Linked DNA regions of Homo sapiens: region 2 is linked to region 1. Evidence: promoter capture Hi-C in human tissues and cell types (Jung and others, 2019). All regions are on one chromosome and are shown on one strand. The core of a region is centred on a gene start or on the middle of the fragment in contact, and the rest is flanking DNA. Distances in the headings are between cores, read along the strand shown. Region 1 holds the start of BANP (BTG3 associated nuclear protein). Region 2 has its middle 98 kb from the start of LINC02182.

Region 1 (5,306 bases), core at 1,955-4,454:
GAGAGCTAACTCCCCCACGGCCAGCAAAGGGGCCTTCCTAAAGAAGCGGAACAGCCCAGAGAAAATATCTGCAAGTTGGTGCTCCAGGTCCCACGGTGACAGGCTCCCAATCACCCGAGGGGAAACTGGACTCTTTCAAAAGCACCCCACAGACCCGGGGCTCTCCGCCAGCTTCCTCCTGCCTCAGACAACAGTAAACATCAGTATGGAGGACTTGCCATAAAGAGGAAGAAGCCAACACTTTTTTTAAGTGACATTAGTGGAAACAAGAAATCAGAACAAAGGAGAGCTGGGAAGAATCCTTATTAGTTTCCTTAGAGTCATGGAGATGAGGCACTTGTGTAACAATAAGCTACTATGAAAAAGAAACAAGACAAATACATGCTTGGACATTAAAAATTTGATTGTGAACACATATTAAAGCCCTCTCCCAGAATGAGAATAAACGAGACACAGAAGGAAGGATAAAGACGCAACTCCAGGGCTCCACCTAGAACGTCCATCACAAACAGGAACTCCTAAGACAGAAGAGCAGAGCTGGAGAGGAAGAACTTCTCAGACAGAACAAGGGAACTTCCCAGAGCTGAAGGACAAAGCACCAGAGTCAGAGTCCCCGGCGTAGGAATCCACACACCTCAGCACACACAAGGGTAAAACATCATTAACACCAAAGAGAAGATCCAAGAGCGTTCAGGGAGGGAGAGGGGTCTCCACAAGGAGGAAGAGCACTTGCCAGAGGTTCCTGTGGAAACGAACAGAGCCAAGATGAAAACATTCCTGAACATACCCAGCTACAGAAGAAAGGAAAATATCAGGCTGGCTCGTGTGCAAGCTAACCCATCCAGATGAGAAGGACAGGGGCTGAAGGAGAAAGGGGACCTGACACTATCCTTGAGAATTTAAAACAATGTAAGGAGTCGATGGGAACAGAAAGTGCCAAGAGAAAAGCCATGACTAACAGAAAAATCCACGCTGTACAGGAAGGGAAACACTCAATTTGTCCGTGAAGAGAACAGTATTTGCATAGGCCTAACACAGACAGTCCAGGGGATAGAAGAGTTGGGATATGACAGAAGGGCTCCATCACCCCATCGTAATAGAAAGACAAGGCTGTGTAATACAAAATATCAGCTTAGAGCTAGGTGCAGTCACTCACACCTGTATTAGCGGCTACTAAGGAGGCTGAGGATCACTTGAGCTCAGGAGTTCGAGTACGGCCTGGGCAACATCAGGGGATCCTATCTCAAGAAAAAAATAAAAAGGATCAGCTTACTCAGAGCTGTGGAGAATGACCTAAAGAAACCACTCAAGATGTAAACCTCTTTGAAGAACGGGGCTGAGAGGTGGGGCAGGGGACCATTGCTTTTCATTGTAAGTCTTTCATTGACGTTCCTATTGTATACATTATATTGATTAAAATACTAAATATATGGGCTTTTTTTTTTAAGAACATAGGCTTCAGACAGACTGAATTCGAACCCTGGCTCTGTAAATCTGAGCAAGTCCCTTAGTGTCTGCGGGCCTAGTCACCTCATCTATAAAGTGGACGCAGCCTCTGCCTCCTGGGTCATGATGAAGCACCCGAGATGTTGAGCTGCCCCCACGCAGCGTGGAATCACAAATGGAAGCTCTTTTTTAAAAAGATTAAAGCCCCAGGCTGGACAACAAGGCGAAACCCCCTCTCTACGAAAAATACAAAAATTAGCCGGGGTGGTGGCGTCTGTGGTCCGAGCTACTCAGGAGGCTGCGGTGGGAGGATCACTTGAGCCAGGGAGGCCGAGGCTGCAGTGAGCCAAGATCACGATACTGCATTCCAGTCTCGGGGACCGAGTGAAACCCTATCTCCAAAAAAATAAAAATATTAACGCCAATGATGACAGAATCCAACATCGCAAGAATATATTCTTATTTTAATCGCCAGACACGGGAAGTGGACCCACATACAGAATTTTACCGCGTTTTGGTGTTTTCTTCTAGCACTGGATATCTGCGAGCTGCGTGTTAAATGACCAGATCCAGTTTTTATTTGACGTTTCCTGAGCTTACTCAGAACCACTCACTACTCCAAGTTATTTTTCTGTCCCCTAAGAACTTCCAGCTAAAAGTGAACCCTACAACTGCCTCCTCTTATCAATTATTTACTGTAGTGCGAGTTCCAGCATCGCCATCAGGCCCTGGAGTACATTCCTGGGCAGAACAGGCAACTCCAAACAGGGCAATTACCTGTTCCACATCAACAACTGTGTGACCCGGGCCCTCCCCGGTCAGGGTGCAAGCTCGCTACCCTTCAAAGCCCACACTCGCTCCACTTGCTCACAGTTCTTCAGGGATGATGTATTTCTCCAATAGCAAGACAACCCCTACCATCTCATCAGTGAAAAACATCAGTCCTCTATCAAGGCAATCTCTCCAATTTGCTCACACAGTGTGGATGGAATGTCATCTACTTTCTGCATCCTAGGGGGGAAAAAGAAAACGGCCACCTTCCTTAAGGACTAGATCACAGAAATCGCACAAACGTGCTGGGGAGGGGGCACCCCGAGGTCCTCGTTCATCGGGGCCCCTCGGGGGACGGGCTGGGGTCGTCGCCGAGGTCTGCGGTCCCCGAGAGCGCCCCTTGCGTGTGCAAGTCCTGGGCTATGGGGCTCCGGTCCACAGCCACGGAGGAGGCACAAAAACGATGCCTGTCGCTCCCGCCTGGCTGGCAGGAGCGACCCCCTTGGGAGACTTCGGGCCCCAGAGGAGCCCGGGCGCGGTTCTAGGCCTTTCCAGTCTCCCCGCCGTGGCTCCGGGTCCTTCCCGCGGGGCGAGGCCCGGGACAGAGGTCGGGAGCGCGAGGCCCCCGGGCCGGGCTGCGGCAGCCGCGGCTCAACGGACGCCGGGCGCGGTGGGGCCGGGGGTGCGGAAGCGAGGAAGCGGGAGCCCCTCTTCCGGGGCGCGGCCGGGGACGGGGAGCGGGGCCCGGGGGGCGATCGCCCGGCCCGGGCGGTTGGCGGCGGCGGGGCTGCGGCGCGGGCGGCCCGGCGGGCGGGAGGAGGAGGGAGGAGGGAGATCTCGCTCTCGCTCTCGCCCCGCGGGAAGGGGGAGGCGGAGGCGCGACCGGCTGCGGGAGCTGCAATTACCGTGTGGGCTGCGGAATTCTCGTGGTGTTTGTCGGGGAGATGCGATAATGGCGTCCGTCCTCGCGAGAGAAGCCGCCGCTCTGCGCAGGCGCCGCGAGCCCCTCCCCGCGACGCTCGGCCCCCGCCCTCCGCGCAGGCTCACTGGGCGCGCGGGCCCGGGGGCGGGGCACCCCTGTGGCAGTGAGGCCAGCTGCGCGCGCTTTTCCCGCTCGGCCTCCTGGTGAGCATGCGCAGGCGGCCTTCTTCCGCGACGGTACCGGCTTCCCAGGGCTTTTTTCCCCCCGTTTTTCGCCCACGCCCATGGCCTGCGTGAGAACAATCACCTCAGTGGACGGTCTGAGGAATTTGCATCTTCTTTGAGACGGAATGAATACGCATTAGCTCCCTCAACTACTACACCTCCCAGGGTGCCCTGCGCAAGCTGGGAGCCATGCATTCGGGGACTCGTAGTCCCTGCGTCTGGGCCATGCCTGCCGGGACTTGTAGTCTCTCCGGACTCCGGTGGCCCGTCCTGTCCCCGCACCAAGGGTTGCTGGGACTTGTAGTTACGATGTCTCAGGTGGGCTGTGCGCCCCCAGCGGGTCCTACCTGCTGCTGCGGCGGGTCCTGCCCTGAGGTTCCGGAGCGCTTGGTGGCGTTTTCCCTGACATAAGTGGTCAGGGGTCCCCAGTGTCTATCCAGAGGGGCCTGAGTGCACGCGCGCGGGACTTAGCACACGCGGCAGTGATTATGGTCTTAGATAAGTCCTATAGGTAACACATAATATAAATAAGTGATGGCGGCCGGGCACGGTGGATCACGCCTGTAATCTCAGCCCTGTGGGAGGCCAAGGCGGGCGGAACACCTGAGGTAAAGGGTTCGCGACCAGCCTGGCCAACATGGCGAAACCCTGTCTCTACTAAAAATACAAAATTATGCCGGGCGTGGTGGCGGGCGCCTTGTAATCCCAACTACTCGGGAGGCTGAGGCAGGAGAATCGCTTGAGCCCGCGAGTCAGAGGTTGCAGTGAGCCGAGATCGCGCCACTGCACTCCAGCCTGGCGACAGAGCGAGACTCTGTCTCAAAAAAAAAAAAAGTGATGACGTGAATGTGCACACGTAGAATAAATGTGCAAATGTGCGTTTGTGGGTAATCACAGGAAAAAATTCCCAAACCATAGCGCAGTTCCCAGAAATGTCATTCCTGGTTATCTCCCTCTGCTAATCTAGGATTACCTTGCCTTTCATTTTCTTCTTTATACTCGCCTCTGTTTCCTCAATTATTTGCAATGAGCAAGAATGCCTTTGAGCTCCCAAACACAGGGCGAGGCAGCTATTTTCACTGGGAAAAAGAAAATGCTGGCCGGGCGCGGCGGCTCACGCCTGTAATCCCAGCACTTTGGGAGGCCGAGGCGGGTGGATCACGAGGTCAGGAGATCGAGACCATCCTGGCTAACACGGTGAAACCCCGTCTCTACTAAAAATACAAAAAATTAGCCCGGCGCGGTGGCAGGCGCCTGTAGTCCCAGCTACTCGGGAGGCTGAGGCGGGAGAATGGCGTGAACCCGGGAGGCGGAGCTTGCAGTGAGCCGAGATGGCGCCACTGGACTCCAGCCTGGGCAGCAGAACGAGACTCCGTCTCAAGAAAAAAAAAAAAAAAAAGAAAGAAAGAAAAACAAAATGCTTTACCTTGAATTTCCTGCCCAACTCCCTTTTGCCAATAATAAAAACAGGATTCAGCGCAGTCATGGGCTATGCGACCTTGGGCAACCTTACCGAGTTAAAGTCTCCTCCAGAATTAGGCTTGGAGGTTCCACTGAGGCTGGTGGCTGGGTTACTTCGTGGCAAAAGTGCCTTACAAACACTCCAAGGAGGAGCCTTGGCAAAATGGCAGCGCTGGGACAGGTGTTGATCTGAAGATGGGACTTGTCCTTTTTCAACATGAAGATCAGCTCCAAAGAGATTAGAAAAATTGTCCAGCGAGGCCACAGGGCTGGAGAGAGGCACAAGCTGAGTTTGCAGTCCAGAGCGCCTTGCTTAGAGTGTGGAGTCCACTCACATGGAGGGAAAGGGTGCGTGCGATAGCTGACACAGAATATTCCCTCCGGCAGTGGGGACAAAACATGTTCTAGGGACGCACGCCTTTTGTCTCCACCTCCACCTCAATCACGGCTGCATTCAAATATTAATACTTGCCCATGTAAGA
Region 2 (5,306 bases), core at 1,448-3,947, 140 kb before region 1:
TAGATTCCAATTTCTAGAGCCTCTGGCGGCTCAGATGAAATATCGAAAGTTGGCACAAAAGCAGCTGTCCTCGGGCAGGGCCCCATCACCCTCAGGAAAGCCAGGGCATCTAGCGGGGAGCTGGGCAGCTCCATCGCCCTCAGGAAAGCTGGGGGTTCTTTGGGCAGCAGGGAGCTGGGCAGCTCCATCACCCTCAGGAAAGCCGGAGGGTCTAGGCAGTGGAGAGCTGGGCGGGTCCATCACCCTCAGGGAAGCCAGGATGTCTTTGGGCAGCAGGGAGAGTCCCCTGTCATCCTTTGGACATCCTGTGGACATCTGTCATTTGTGCAGAAGTATCTACATAAGATAGAAGCAACGTTTCCTGGAAGTTTCTTACAAACTTACACCAAGGACAGAGGGTCCTAGAGGAATTGAGGGGCTTGCTGTCCACTTTAAGTGGAGGGAATTCTTTTTCATTCCTTTATTGTCACTAAAGGTTGGATTTCAGAGCAAGCACTCAAGCGCATGGAGAAAGATGAGGGAGGGAAGATGGGAGGAGAGTGAGGAAATGTGGGCATCCGGTTCCCTGGCTGTGCTCTCAGGGGACCCCGGAGGACCACCTGCTTAACAGGCAGATGCCTCTGTGTGTCACCATCAAAGTGAGGACATGGCTGAGCCCAGTTAACACTCAGGGCGCCCATGCACAGCTGGGCCTGTGCAGTCTCTTGGTGACAGCAGTGACCACATGGCGTCCTCCTGTAGGGACCACGTGGCTGGCTTTTATTCTTTCTATCCTTGGGCAGAAAGAGGAGGCAGAAGTGATGAGTCCTGCCCTTCTACCTTCGAGTAGGTCAGAAATGTTTTCATAAGATAAAAGTTACAACTGAAAGAAACAGCAGGTCTGGGCATAAAAATCCTGCGTTTTCAGCCTCGAGTGTGTGTGGGAGAGTGGGAGCTCAGGGTGTCTCTCCTGGGGGCCATGAAGCAGGAACAAAGGGCTGTGGGGCTGATGCCGGACCCACTTTACATCCGTGTGCTGGGGCTGCTGCAGCAAAGTGCCACAAACCGGGGGGTCCATGTGACAGAAATTCACCCTCTCCCTCGCTGGAGGCTGAGTCTGAGAGCCAGTTGTTCCAGGGCTGTGCACCCTCTGAGGGCCCTGGGGAGGCCTCTTCCCACCTTCTCCAGCTCCCAGCAGCTCCCGGGGTGGGGTGGGGTGGGCAGCTGCATGTTCAGAGCTCCCAGGTGTCTCCAGGGCTCAGCCAAGGCTGACACCCTGGTTTGGCTCTAGGACTCTGATTAGGCATTTTGGACAAAGCATTTCCTCCACGGGGCAGACACGGAGCACACCCCTGGGTAACGGCATGTCCAACTTTTTAGAAGAGTCACCAGTCAAACACTGGCCACCCAAGTGAGAATCAGTGAGATTGCAAAGTGGTTGTCATTAGTGAGGTTGTCAGATGGCCTGGCATGTTTAAGTAACCAAAAGCAAGTCCTTCTCATACCTTGCATGTTGGAGGGGACACGCCAGTGCTGGTTAGAATTAAAACCCAAAGCAGGTCATTGATTCTGATAGGAGTGCCCTGACTCCAGGATCATTAAGAAGGGTTTCAGGGAGGAAAAACAGATGATATTGTCTGTCCCTGGTCCAAATCCATGGTGCATCCCCACTTCCATAGGAATTCTGTGCAGGTCTTTTATATGCTGCTATATTTTATATCTGTTGCTGTGTTGCTACACACCCAAAACTTAATGGCTTAAAGAGCATAAATCACTTTTTATCCCTCACAGACTGTTAGCCAGGAAAGTGGGAAGTGCTCAGCAGGGCGGTTTTCCTTAGGGTCTCTCATGTGGTCTTATGTCAGCTTGGGGTGCATCACCTGAAGGCTAGACTGGGGCTGGTGGCTCCCTCACGAGGTGGGTGGGCTGGTGCTGGCTATTGGCTGAGGGCCCCAGTTACTCTCCAGGGCCTGCCTGATGTCCTCACAGCATGGTGGCCAGCTTCTTCTAGAGTGAGTGAGCCAACAGGCCAAGTGGAGGCTGCAATGCCGTTATAATCCAGCCTCAAGGGGAAGTCACATGTTGCCCACCACCGTACTCTATGCTGACCACACAGACCAGCCCTGCTGTGTGGGAGGGGAGCACACACAGACAAATACAGGAGTTGGGGGGGTCACTGGAGCCATCTGGGAGGCTTGCCACCATCACCTGTCCTGTTCCCTAAATGACCTGCATCCCTGGGTTTCCTATTCTCAGCATTGTGTGCCACCTTGAGGGGCCGGGAATGAGAAAAAGTGTTTTCAGACAGAAAGCATCTCTTTTATATTTAGCAGCCCTTCCTTTAGTTTATCTCTTCCCTCTCTTATTTTATTTAAAAGTAGCAAGAGGCCAGGTGTAGTGGCTTATGCCTGTAATCCCAACACTTTGGGAGGCTAAGGCAGGTGGATTGCTTGAACCTAGAAGTTTGAGACCAGCCTGGGCAACATGGCAAAACCCCATCTCTATTTTATAATATTACTATTTAAAATAAATAAATAAATAAAATAAAGTACAAGATATGCCACCCTCAGTGCCCTCCTTACAAAGCTTGCTAGCTTGATCATTCAGCTCATTGGGCCACTTTCCACATTACTGCAGGCCATGATCTTGCTGATAGAATAAGAGTCCCTATTTCTGGAGGGGTTTGATTAAACATTCTTGCCTGAAAGTCTCCTGAAGCTGTAGTCTTGCATCAGCTGGAGTTGCAGTCTCATTTGAAGGCCTGACTGGGGCTGGCCTTCCCAGGTCACTCCTAGGTCACTCCATCACACACTGGCCAGTGGTGCTGCTGGCCAGAACTCAGTTCTCTCCAAATGGACCCTGCCATGAGGCCACTTGAATATCACAGCATGGGGGCTGGCTCCCCTCGGAGTGGATGGCCTGAGAGACCAAGACAGAAGCTATGTTGCCTTGTACAGCTCAGTCATGGAAGTTACACACTGTCAGCTCTGCCATGTTCCACGGGCCACACACATCAGCCCTGAGTCAATGTAGGAAGATGATAAACCCCAGGAGGCGTGGGTCAGTGGGTTCATCTTGGAGGCCACAGAGCTGTCTCAGCATTGTCCCAGAGGGGGATTCGGTGACAGGGCCAAAGGGATTCCAATGATTCAACCCAAGAATGACCAGTTTAGACAGGACTGATCAGGCTAAGATGACGAAATGCCAGCTGACATGAAAACATGGGACAGGCCCTGGGCAGAGTCCCTGGATTGAAGTCTCCACCCCAGCACTTCCCACCTGGGGTTTGGGCTTCATCCACTGGCAAGGCAGAGATGATAGTGAAACCCAGCCTTCTCCCACCCATGTGCTGGATGATCAAAGGAGCAAACAGAAAAAAAAAAAAAATGAAAGTGCCAAAGAGTCACACTATTATCATTTATTTTTGTTATTAGAATGATAAATCCCTTTAGAAATAAACAGCTTTCTTGGATATAATTAATATACTATACATTTCACCTATGTGAAGTGCACAATTCACTAGTCTTTATTCAGAGTTGTGTGACCATCATCATTATAGAATAAGGTCTTATTGATGCTTGAGAGATGATGATGATGATGATGATGATGATGATGATGATGATGATGGAGACAGAGTCTGCTCTGTCCACCAGGCTGGAGTGCAATGTTGCTATCGTAGCTTACTGCAGTGTCCACTTCCTGGGCTCAAGTGATCCTCCTGCCTTAGCTTTCCGAGGACTCCAGGCGTGAGCCACCACACACAGCTGAATTTTTTTTTTTTTTTTTTTTTTTTTTTAGTAGAGGTGAGGTTTTGCTACGTGGCCCGGGCTGGACTCGAACTTCTGACCTCAAGCGATCCTCCTGCCTTGGCCTCCCAAAGTGCTGGTGGGATTATTTTTAGACCACATTGAAAAGTTCCAGTTGATGTTACAGGAAGCGAGCCAGGGAACACTTGACCCCCAGGCTCTAGGAACCATCAAGATCAAGCTAGAAAAGGGCATCGGCAAGAAGGGGTGTCTGGAGGCGTCAGGGCTGCGCTGTCTGTGCGGAGAGAATTCCGCCGTGTGGAGCAGCTATGCTCCCTTAGGGGTGGCTGGCTATGAGGGCTACGGCCTGTCCTCGAGGGTCCCACCTCTTCCCCAGCTCCCAAGATTCAGGGGGTGGGACTTCCCCTGGAACCCTGGAAAGCAGGGAGCACCGACCGCCCTGGATGCCAGGAAGGAGGGAGTGTTGCTGCCTGTGGACCCTGAGAAGGAAGGAGCATTGCTGCCTGTGGACGCCGGCAAGGAAAAAGCACCAGCCGCCCGTGGACCCTGAGAAGGAGGGAGCATTGCCGCCCGTGGACGCGGGGAAGGAGGCAGCATTGCCGCCCGTGGACCCTGGGAAGGAGGGAGCATTGCGGCCCGTGGTCCCTGGCTGCGTGCCCTCCCCTCGTCTCCTCCACCCAAGAGCAAAGTCGAAGCTCTTTTTCCAAAGCTCTGTCTCCCCCACCTCCTCCAGCTTCCCTCTAAGAGTTCCTGTTGGTGTCCTCCACCCCCAGTCCACAGTCCAGGAGCCAAGAATTCATGGCAGACCCCGAGCCACAGCTCGCCAAATCATTCGCTCATTGTTAGACATCTGGGGTTTTCAACTTTCTGTTTTCATAAAGGACACGGTAAGTGCCCCTGGGCAGCGGCTCCTCTGGAGCTCCAGTCCGAGAACCTCGGGGGTGAAATTCTGTTCTCAGCTCCGCCCCTGCCCAGGCCGCTGTACCATCCCATGAGAGGCTGGAGTTGGAAGCCCCTTGACGTCCCGGCCTCCATGGGCATGAGCATCCCGAGCACCCAGACCTCGGCTTCTCAGTACCGTGTTCCATTCAAAGTGGCCAGGACTCCTGGGAGAATTGGCCAGCTCCAGCCTGGGCAGGGAAAACACCAGAGGCTTGTAGGAGATCGCGACCCTCCAGGGCTACGAGGCCGTGCCCGAGCACTCAGGAGCCTGCTTGATGGGGAGGGTTGTGGGGGGATGGTGGGAGCTGACAGTGCCAGGAGATGGCCTGGGGCACAAGCGGCCCCACAGCTCAGGCTCAGACAAGCAGCTGGAAGCCTGGTGCGCGTGGATGTCCCCATGGCTTTAAAGGACGCCCCACAGAACACGGATTAATCATAATAGAGAGAAAGGACAGCGTTGCAGGGGAGGCTGCAGACACGGCATCAATTAAACCGTCAGCGTTCACGTCACCAGAGACCGCCCAGGGTGAGATTTTACACCCGCCGCCAGGACACCTGCAGAAGCGCAGCCTCGCCCCCTGCTGTCCCCGCCCACCCAGGATCTCATCACCAGGAATC

What was found. Contacts are between HindIII fragments. The study calls those that stand out against the background at their distance.
Region 2: a fragment that was not itself captured here is called in contact with the fragment with the promoter of BANP in region 1 in 1 of the 25 tissues and cell types used here (dorsolateral prefrontal cortex).

The regions. Positions count from the first base shown.
Region 1 is chr16:87,949,332-87,954,637 of GRCh38, reverse strand. BANP (BTG3 associated nuclear protein) reads right to left here and starts at 3,204. Exons shown (of 14, transcript NM_001386991.1): 1 at 3,123-3,204. RefSeq lists silencers at 2,709-2,808, 2,829-2,888, 2,919-3,038, 3,049-3,348 and enhancers at 2,637-3,279, 3,539-3,848. The HindIII fragment of the contact is 14,887 bases long and covers 1-5,306 here.
Region 2 is chr16:88,093,353-88,098,658 of GRCh38, reverse strand. No RefSeq gene overlaps it. Among named protein-coding and RNA genes, the nearest start is that of LINC02182, 98 kb to the left of the region's middle. RefSeq lists an enhancer at 5,265-5,306. The HindIII fragment of the contact is 3,897 bases long and covers 749-4,645 here.